2 separate regions of the Homo sapiens genome follow, and region 1 is linked to region 2. The links are contacts of gene promoters, found by promoter capture Hi-C in human tissues and cell types (Jung and others, 2019). All regions are on one chromosome and are shown on one strand. Each heading gives the region's core, a stretch centred on a gene start or on the middle of the fragment in contact. The rest is flanking DNA. Distances are from core to core; before and after follow the strand shown. Region 1 overlaps PEX1 (peroxisomal biogenesis factor 1). Region 2 holds the start of ERVW-1 (endogenous retrovirus group W member 1, envelope).

Region 1 (4,675 bases), core at 467-2,966, 37 kb after region 2:
AACATGGGACAATTTTTTTTAATTACAACCACGTGGCAAAATGATCAATCTCTTAAAAGCCAAAAATATTCATATTTGCATTGGCAAATATAAGTATTTGTGTTATCATTTATTAAAGATTTCTCAGCTTCTCAAAAAGTTAAACATAATTCCTAGGTATATCCCAAAGGAGCTGAAAAGAGGAACTCAAACAGATACTTGTACACCAATGTTCACTGTAGCATTATTCACAGCAGCCAAAAATGTGGAAACAACCCAAGTGTCCATCAACAGATGAATGGATAAACAAATGTGGTATATGCAGTCAATGGAATAGTATTCAGCCATGAAAAGGAATAACATTCTGATACATACAACACAGATGAGCCTTGAAAACATTATGTTAAATGAAATAAGTCAGATACATAAGACAAATGCATACTTCTACTTATATATGAAATATCTAGAATAAGTAAATTCATAGAGACACAATATACATTAGAGATTACCAGGGACTGGGGAAAGGAGTGGACGGGGAATTATTGTTTAATGGGTACCAAGTTTCTCTTTGGGGTGATGGAAAAGTTCTGGATATAGATAGTGGTGATGGTTGTACAATATTATGAATGTAATTAATGCCTTTGAATTATACACTTAAAAATGGCGAACATGGCATATTTTATGTTATATATAGTTTAACACAATAAAAAAAGATTTGTATCAAAAAGGAATACAACATTCTTATTACTTAGCTAAAGCAACTAGAAATCTTACAAAACGTGTAAAAGAATTTTGATGTAACATATATATTTGAACTCACTAAATTCTCTCTAGGTTGTAACTTTAGAGATCTTGGAATTTTAGGGGTAACTTCCACTGGAGTTATCCTGACTACGGCATGCATTTCTATATTTAGTCTCTTCCTCAGGTCATCTGGAATCTGAAATTTAAAAATAAACAAAAATATAAATATATTCAAAGCTTGGTTAAGAAATATTTCATAGCATAAATATTGATATATTAGCTTCTATGAATTTAGGTGAAATAACAGAAGCTATCATAATAACTCATAGTTGTCTCAGTCCATGCAGGCTGCTATATCAAAATATCCTAAACTGGGTGGCTAACAAACGACAGAAACTTATTTCTCACAGTTCTCTTTTATAAGAGCACGAATCCCATTCATGAAGGCTTCACCTTCATGACCTAATCACTTCCCAAAGACCACACCTCCTAATACGATCACCTTGGGAGTTGGGATTTCGACATATGAATTTGAGGAGGACAAAACATTCAAATACCAACGGTGTGACCAGATGGATGTTCAGATATTGTTATACCATGAACATTTCAATCCTCTCCCTACATTTCTTTCCTTTTCTTTACATAATCTTCAGAATTAGAGCTTTAAATGTATGTATTTGACTGTATTCACCAAACCCATCTTTTAAACTATGGCACATTTACATTCAAATTAAATGTTATTTCTAATCTTTGAGCAGCCTTTATTTGTGAAAGTTAACAACCAATGAAGAAGCTGGAATGGCCAAAACTAATCACAGACAATCTGCCTGATTGTCTGATTAAATGATTAGATCCAGACAGAAACTTAATCTAAAAAGCAGAGTAAAATTTCTCCCACCCCCTAATGAAAATGTTCTAAACTTAGATTGTGGTGATGGCTGTACAACTAGTATAAATATACTAAAAATGACTGAATTGTACACTTTAAATTTTACCTCAGCCGGGCGCAGTGGCTCACGCCTGTAATCCCAGCACTTTGGGAGGCCGAGGTGGGCGGATCACAAGGTCAGGAGTTTGAGACCAGCGTGGCCAATATGGTGAAACCTCGTCTCTACTAAAACTACAAAAATTAGCCAGGCGTGGTGGTGGGAGCCTGTATCCTAGCTACTCGGGAGGCTGAGGCAAGAGAATCGCTTGAACCTGGGAGGCAGAGCTTGCATTGAGTGGAGATCGCCACCACACTCCGGCCTGGGCGACAGAGTGAGACTCCGTCTCAAGAAAAAAAAAAAAATTATCTATATATATATATATATATATATATATATATATATATATATATATATATATATATCAATAATGATGTTAAAAATTTTTCTCAACTTCCCAAATATAAGTAAGCACTGAAAGACATAAAGACGACTTTACTCTCTATTAACTTCTAAAGAGCAGGTGCAGACATATTAATGGTAGACAAAAGCATAAATAAAAACTCTAAGGTACATATTCTGACTTAAAGAGAATTTAACAATCAAGTTTCCTGTTTGTTTGTTGTTTTTTTTTAATCACCATGCTTCACAGGGTAATAAAGGTTCAAGTTAACATGAATTTGTTAGTTGTATCACCAAGTGATCAATTTTGATCTCTCAAGCCAAGTCCATTTTAGTACCTGATTTCACCTACTGTGACTTCTCATTGTCCATGGCTCTTCAACCTTCAGTGGAGTGGGAAGGGCGGAGTCCTTATTGCTATCTTAATCACAGGACTTTACCATCAGCACTTCTCCCTGTTCTCACCATATAATTTCAAGGAAATAAAAGGATATTCCCATCTAATGACAGAACCAGCTAAATCATAAGCTCAGTGTTAGATATTTTGAATTTGAGGATGCAGTGGGATCTCCTGAACGGACAGTTTAAAGCTAACAGAAAATAATGATCTGAGGCCAGGCACAGTGGCTCACGCCTGTAATCCCAGCACCTTGGGAGACTGAGGCAGGCGGATCACTTGAGACCAGGAGTTCAAGACTAGCCTGGCCAACATGGTGAAACCTCGTCCCTACTAAAAATACAAAAATTAGCCAGGAGTGGTGGCGCACACTTGTAGTCCCAGCTACTCTGAAGGCTGAGGCAGGAGAATCATTTGAACCTGGGAGGTGGAGGTTGTAGTGAGTGGAGGTGGTGCCACTGCACTCCAGCCTGGGCAACAAAGCAAGCTTCTAACTCAAAAAAAGAAAAGAAAAGAGAAGAGAAGAGAAGAGAAGAGAAGAGAAGAGAAGAGAAGAGAAAAAAGAAAAGAAAAGAAAAGAAAAGAAAAGAAAAGAAAAGAAAAGAAAAGAAAAGAATGGTCTGGAGCTTTAGAAAATGATGTAGGCCGGCCAGGAGCAGTGGCTCATGCCTGTAATCCCAGCACTTTGGGAGGCCGAGGCAGGCAGATCACCTGAGGTCAGGAGTTCCAGACCAGGCTGGCTAACATGGTGAAACCCAGTTTCTACTAAAAATACAAAAAATTAGCCAGGCGTGGTGGTGCATGCCTGTAGTCCCAGCTACTCAGGAGGCTGAGGCAGGAGAACCACTTGAACGTGGGAGGCGGAGGTTGCAGTGAGCCAGATCATGCCACTGCACTCCAGCTTGGGCAAGAAGAGTGAAACTCCATCTTGTGGAAAAAAAAAATAGAAAAGAAAATGATGTAGGCCAAAGAGATTAATGCTTTGTCAGTTATTTGTATAAAGGTCACAGGTAAAACTGTTGGAGAAAAAAAAAAAATCTACAAAAGGAGACAACCTTCTCTTTCTATTTTATTCTCTTTCCTAACAAGTTCCTCTCTTTATCACTATGAAGTCTTACTTTACAGTGGTTCAAATTTAGGTTCCAATAAATGGACTAGTGACTTATGTCATATAAAGGTAGCATTAATATTTGTGGCCAGGATGAGGGGCTGGAGCACTAGTTGCCCTGTCTACTTCCTCTCCGTTATACACAAATTAAAGAGCAGACACCGGCAGGGTAAGCAGCTCCTGGATGCATTCCAATCCAGGTGCCACCACATGCAGCAGGAAGGTTACCTCATGCCATGGATCTCTCCCTACACTGGCCCTTTTCCCTAATATTAACAAGTTGCTTTCGGTAACTGGGGAACAAATCTGCAAGCATTAAAGATGGGAGGCTTTGTAGGGCACTCCATCCTGATGAACCCCCAAGTCAATCTGCCTGGGTTTGAATCCTAGTTGTAACACTAGCTATGCAATCTCAGGCAAGTAATTTTGACCTCTCTGGCCTGAACCTATCTAAGCTTGTACCTATTCAAGCTTACTTGGCCAGAAAACATACAATCTTTATCCAAACAAGGACTTTACTGCAAAGCGTAAATGTGTCCCCCAAGTGCCTTTAGGCACTGTGTTTCTTTTTAATTGATTTTCAATTTATATATGAAATACTATTCTAATTCATAATTTGGGGATGTTTAAGCCACATAAAATTTCTCCCAAGTTATAAAATTTATACTAACCCAGACTTTCCCAAGATGGAGAACTTCTACATTTTTGGTATATTTGATGGCATTGTTCAATTCTTCAAGTCCATTCCAGACTACTTGTAGCACACAGGCCTTCTCATCTTCTTCATTATGATCTGACCTAATTTTTTTTTGATCTAGTGGCTCTGACATCTGCTTCTCTTTTTCAGGTGATAACACATTTTGTTTTGTTTTACTTTGCTGTTGCTTTGGAGAAAGTAGCTTAACTAGCTTTCCATATGTCACAGTAAAGCTGGGCTCTACATCAAAATATTCCTGGTCCCATGGAAATACATGAATGGCACAGTGTTTATGAAAAACAGAGGTTGCTGACGCGTTATATATACTAGGAGGTTGAGATTTGCATACTCTGAAAATATTGTCTAGAGGAACAACCTTTGACTGCATATTTTTGAATGCATTGATTTCAGTTAAACCCCAA
Region 2 (4,280 bases), core at 1,639-4,138:
TTACATAATTGTGAGTTGTCTCTTAATGAAAAGAAAGTTTGTACTTATGGCACTTCACTCCATTTGCCTTTTCTACAAAAGAGGTCTAGCTGTAAGATGGTGTTATAATTTATACTTCCCTCAGGAGTGCCAGGCGGCACTGCAGAAGAATATAAGTCGTTTCTTTCTTAGTGTCTGAGGGTCAAATTGGTCCCAATTCTCCAGAATACGTCTTAGGGGCGTTTTTGTCTTGCGGGGAACGTTTCCCATCTGAAAAAAGAACATAGGGATGCCAGCAACCCTAGTCATTTTCCGATGAGCTTTAGTCCTGGAGTGTCCTCTATGGTCCTAATGCTTATTCTTTCCAGGGTGCATCACCACCCATGGACCTCTGCTTATCGAATTAGTTATGCTCACTGATGTTGCAGTCCTGCACCTGTTTTCCTGCCTCTCTTGACCACAAAGAAAGGGGTCCAGGCTGCTGGATTCTAGTGGTCCTTTACCAGCGTGCCCAACATTGCCTTTGTGCTCAGGGGTGAGTTCCTTTCCAGGGTGCGTAACCACCCATGGACCTCTGTTTATCGGATTAGTTATGCTTACCGATGTAGCAGTCCTGCACCCCTTTTCCCGCCTTTCTTGACCACAAAGAAAGGGGTCTGGGCTGCTGGATTCTAGTGGTCCTTTACCAGCATGCCCAACATTGCCTTTGCGCTCAGGGGTGAGTCCTAGAGCTGGGCTGGGTTCCTATTTTATAACAACCCAGCTGCCCCATCAAGATGCATTCCCATAAACAAGTTCTTATGCAAATGCATTACAGAGAGGGTGTAGCTAACCTTTTGAATCAGGATTGAGATAGTCTTTTGATTCTGTAAGTACTTTAAGGCTTGGCTGAGTGCAAACAGCTCACACGTTTGAGGAGACCAGTTATTAGGCAATTTTTCTAACTCTGCTTCCACAAGAGTCCCCGTATCAATTACTGAATACCCATTGTGGTTTTTTTCCTCAATCACCTGGGAGGAACCATCTATCGTCCTGTCCTGAAGGGAGTTCCGCCTAGGTCTGGTCGGACCTTTGTATGGTAATTAAGATTTAAATCCCGTTAGGAAATCTGCTGGGTTAAGGGAATTATCAGTGGTTGGAGTTACATTACCTTTTTCTAACAGAATAGCCCCATACTTTAAGATTTTTGAGTTAGTAAGCTACCTTTTTGCTTTTTTTATTAGAATAATTCTGAACAGGTGAGGTGTGCTCACAATGAGGTTTCCTCTAAAAGTTACTTTTCTACTTTTAGCAAAGCAGTTGCGCTACCGACTGAATGCATTTGGTCCATCTGCGGGTTACTGGGTTAAGGATTTTTGATAGGGAAGCTACGGGTTGTCAATGGCCTCAGTGCTTTCGGCCTATGCTCTTATTTACACTGACCACAAAGTGGATTGGAGTGCTATAGGGTCACAGAGAAGACCTTCAATTATCAAGTACAGGTTTTAAATTTACCCTGGCTTTTAAAGGAATAGGGCACACTGTTTTTTACTATTTCTTTCTCTTTCTTTCTCTCTTTGACTCTCTCTCTCTCCTCTTTGTCTCTCTCTCTCTTCTGTCTCTCTCACTGTCTCTCTCTCCTCTCTGTCTCTCTCTCTTTCTCCTCCATTTCTCTCTCTCTCCTCTGTCTCTCTTTTCCCTCAGCCATTTACAAACTTGGGGCCCTGGCAAGGGTGGTGGGGAGTGGGTCCTACATAACTGCCCATGTCAAGAGCTGTATGCCTAAATTGGGAGGGACACCAGGGATAAGACTCCCTGGGTTATAGCCTAGGTGCCTAAGGACGCAGCGCAGAGCTTCCTTAGATCCCTTTGGAGATACAACTTGCTAGAGGAAATGGAAGTCTGAACCAATAGTACCTAGGAGGCAGGGATCAGAGGAAGTATATTCAGAGGTAAGGAGAATTTTGGGGCTACACTTTGAAGAAAGTTGTGGTTGGGACCCAGGAGGTATGGGTCAGAAGGAAAGATAGGGGTGCATGCATGGGCGACTGTTGAGACTTCTGGCTACACCATGATCTCAACCGGCTACTGCCGGGAGTTCAGGACGACAGCTTTCTGCCTCTAGTCGGCCCTCGGCTTCCCCAAGAAAACTGAAAGTGGAAGCTGGCTTGAGGCAAACCAAGTCCCCAACCCAGAAGGGTTGGGGGTTGTTAGAAAGCCCTTCCCCAGATAGCCTCACACCTGAGTCTTAAGTCCGGTGGCCACACTAATCGTTTTTAACTGGCCGACAAGTGCCCGGTATTTTCCTCCAATTCTAAGGAAGGATAGGACAGAATAGCAAGTGAAAGTGGTCCAATATTACTCACCACTTTGGATGTCCGTTCGTGGTTGCCAAAATGTTACCGGGGGGTCCTTGCTCACAGAGCTCCCAAGATGGTGGTGAACCACTTCCAAGATGGTAGCAGGCCGCTTCCAAGATGGTGGCAAGCCTCGTATTCTCTGACCTGGAGTTCTTGGCCTCACGGATTCCAAGGAATGGAATCTTGGGCCATGTGGTAAGTGTTATAGTTCTATTAGAAGCCGTGGGTCACAGAAGAGAACCATGGAACCCAGTGACTAGTGTTCAGCTCAATTAGAACAAACCCAGGCACTTAGCCGTGCAGGAACAATGGCAAGCCTTTAGCCCAATTGGGAGCGGCAATGGGCGCCTCGCTGGATCAGGAGCACAGCGGACACCCTGCAGGATCCAGAGGGATGGGAGTCAGCGGCAGGTCTGCGGTGGTGGCAAACAGCAGTGGTGGACGGTGAGCAAAAGCTCAGCTCGAGCCGTAAGAAACATGGACCAGAAGAGTGCAGTTGCAAGATTTAATAGAGTGAAATAGCATGAAAACAGCTCCCATACAAAGGGAAGGGACCCAAAGGGGGGCTGCTGTTGCCAGCTCGAATGCCTGGGTTTATATCCCGATTGTTGTCCCTCCTGCTGTGCTCTCAGGCAATAGATGATTGGCTATTTCTTTACCTCCTGTCTTTGCCTAATTAGCATTTTAGTGAGCTCTCTGATTGGTCAGGTGTGAGCTAAGTTGCAAGCCCCGTGTTTAAAGGTGGACGTGGTCACCTTCCCAGCTAGGCTTAGGGATTCTTAGTCGGCCTAGGAAATCCAGCTAGTCCTGTCTCTCAGTTGCAAGATAATTGCTGTATCTCCAGGCGTTTTGCCCTCATCCCAGAAAGGAAGCCCGCCCCAGGGACTTCTGTCTATGTTCACTGTCCAGAACTATGTCACATAGCCACAAATGACTGCAGTGAAGATCATGTGACTCAGTAATTCACTCTCCAGAGAGTATAGGAAGGCAAGAGAGGTGGTGTTGGAATGGATGTTGAATGAATTCATCTATAGGATATACCACAACGTCGGGAATAAGTGGCAGATGTTACAATCGAAATGGGCTGATTATAAGTGGGGATAAGTGGCTCGTGGGGTGGCAGAGGTCAGGCAGTTGCAATATGAGAGGCTAGGTGGATGCAGCTACCATAATCAGCAGTAAAGCCAGCATGTTAATTGCAGTGGTCTGACCTGCAGGGATCTTTGGTGCTGCCTAATTATGGTAATACATAAGTTATTAAGAAATAGTTTTTTGGCAGCTAGAAAGAGTAAAGGTTTTTGGAAATTTTCTTGTAATAAGAAGCAACCCTCACCCATTCCAAACCATTCCTTTTCTAACAGAAAAGACAGCTTAAAGAGCCAGGCCAGCAAACTTTGATATGCAAATGCAGGCTATTAAAAACTAGGTCCACCCAACATGGCCACCATGGCGATTCCCACCCTCTTCTTGTCAGCACATGTACCAAGTGTCATGGCCCCCTCCAGATAATTCATGTGTTTTCAGAACATCATGGCAACCCACATTTGCATATTAAAGGGCTGAGGTGGGAGGGCCAGGTTTTTTGCGGGGTACATGAATGATACACCTGGTCAACCCAATCCCCTGGGCCCTGTGCAAATCAGACACCGCCTCCTCCAGCCTCCCAGTATAATCAACCACTTTTCCACTGCACATGGGGTTTCCTTCTCTCGGCTTGGAGCCCCCTCCCTCTGTGTCTGTACAGGGGAGCCTCTTCCTTCTTTTTTGCGTATTAAACTCTCTGCTCCTTAAAACCACTCCATGTGTGTCCGTGTTGTTGTCACCCCCGTCCCTGTGAAGAGAGTCCACCAAACAGGCTTTGTGTGAGCAACAAGGCTGTTTATTTCACCTGGGTGCAGGCGGGCTGAGTCCAAAAAAGGAGTCAGCTAAGGGAGATGGGGTGGGGCCATTTTATAGGATTTG

The links. The method cuts DNA at HindIII sites, captures the fragments that hold promoters and counts their contacts. A contact is called where the count stands out against the background at its distance.
Region 1: a contact is called between a fragment that was not itself captured here and the fragment with the promoter of ERVW-1 in region 2, in 1 of the 25 tissues and cell types used here (aorta).

The regions. Positions count from the first base shown.
Region 1 is chr7:92,513,049-92,517,723 of GRCh38, forward strand. PEX1 (peroxisomal biogenesis factor 1) reads right to left here. Exons shown (of 24, transcript NM_000466.3): 5 at 4,228-4,675; 6 at 800-919. Among named protein-coding and RNA genes, the nearest start is that of PEX1, 13 kb to the right of the region's middle. The HindIII fragment of the contact is 6,462 bases long and covers 1-4,675 here.
Region 2 is chr7:92,475,058-92,479,337 of GRCh38, forward strand. It overlaps ERVW-1 (endogenous retrovirus group W member 1, envelope), which reads right to left and starts at 2,889. Exons shown (of 2, transcript NM_001130925.2): 1 at 2,325-2,889. It also overlaps a transcript of GATAD1 not described here. RefSeq lists enhancers at 1,573-2,074, 2,212-3,131, 3,109-3,253, 3,143-3,573, 3,171-3,202 and 1 more, promoters at 2,779-3,111, 2,818-3,178 and cis regulatory regions at 3,203-3,264, 3,265-3,573. The HindIII fragment of the contact is 19,432 bases long and covers 1-4,280 here.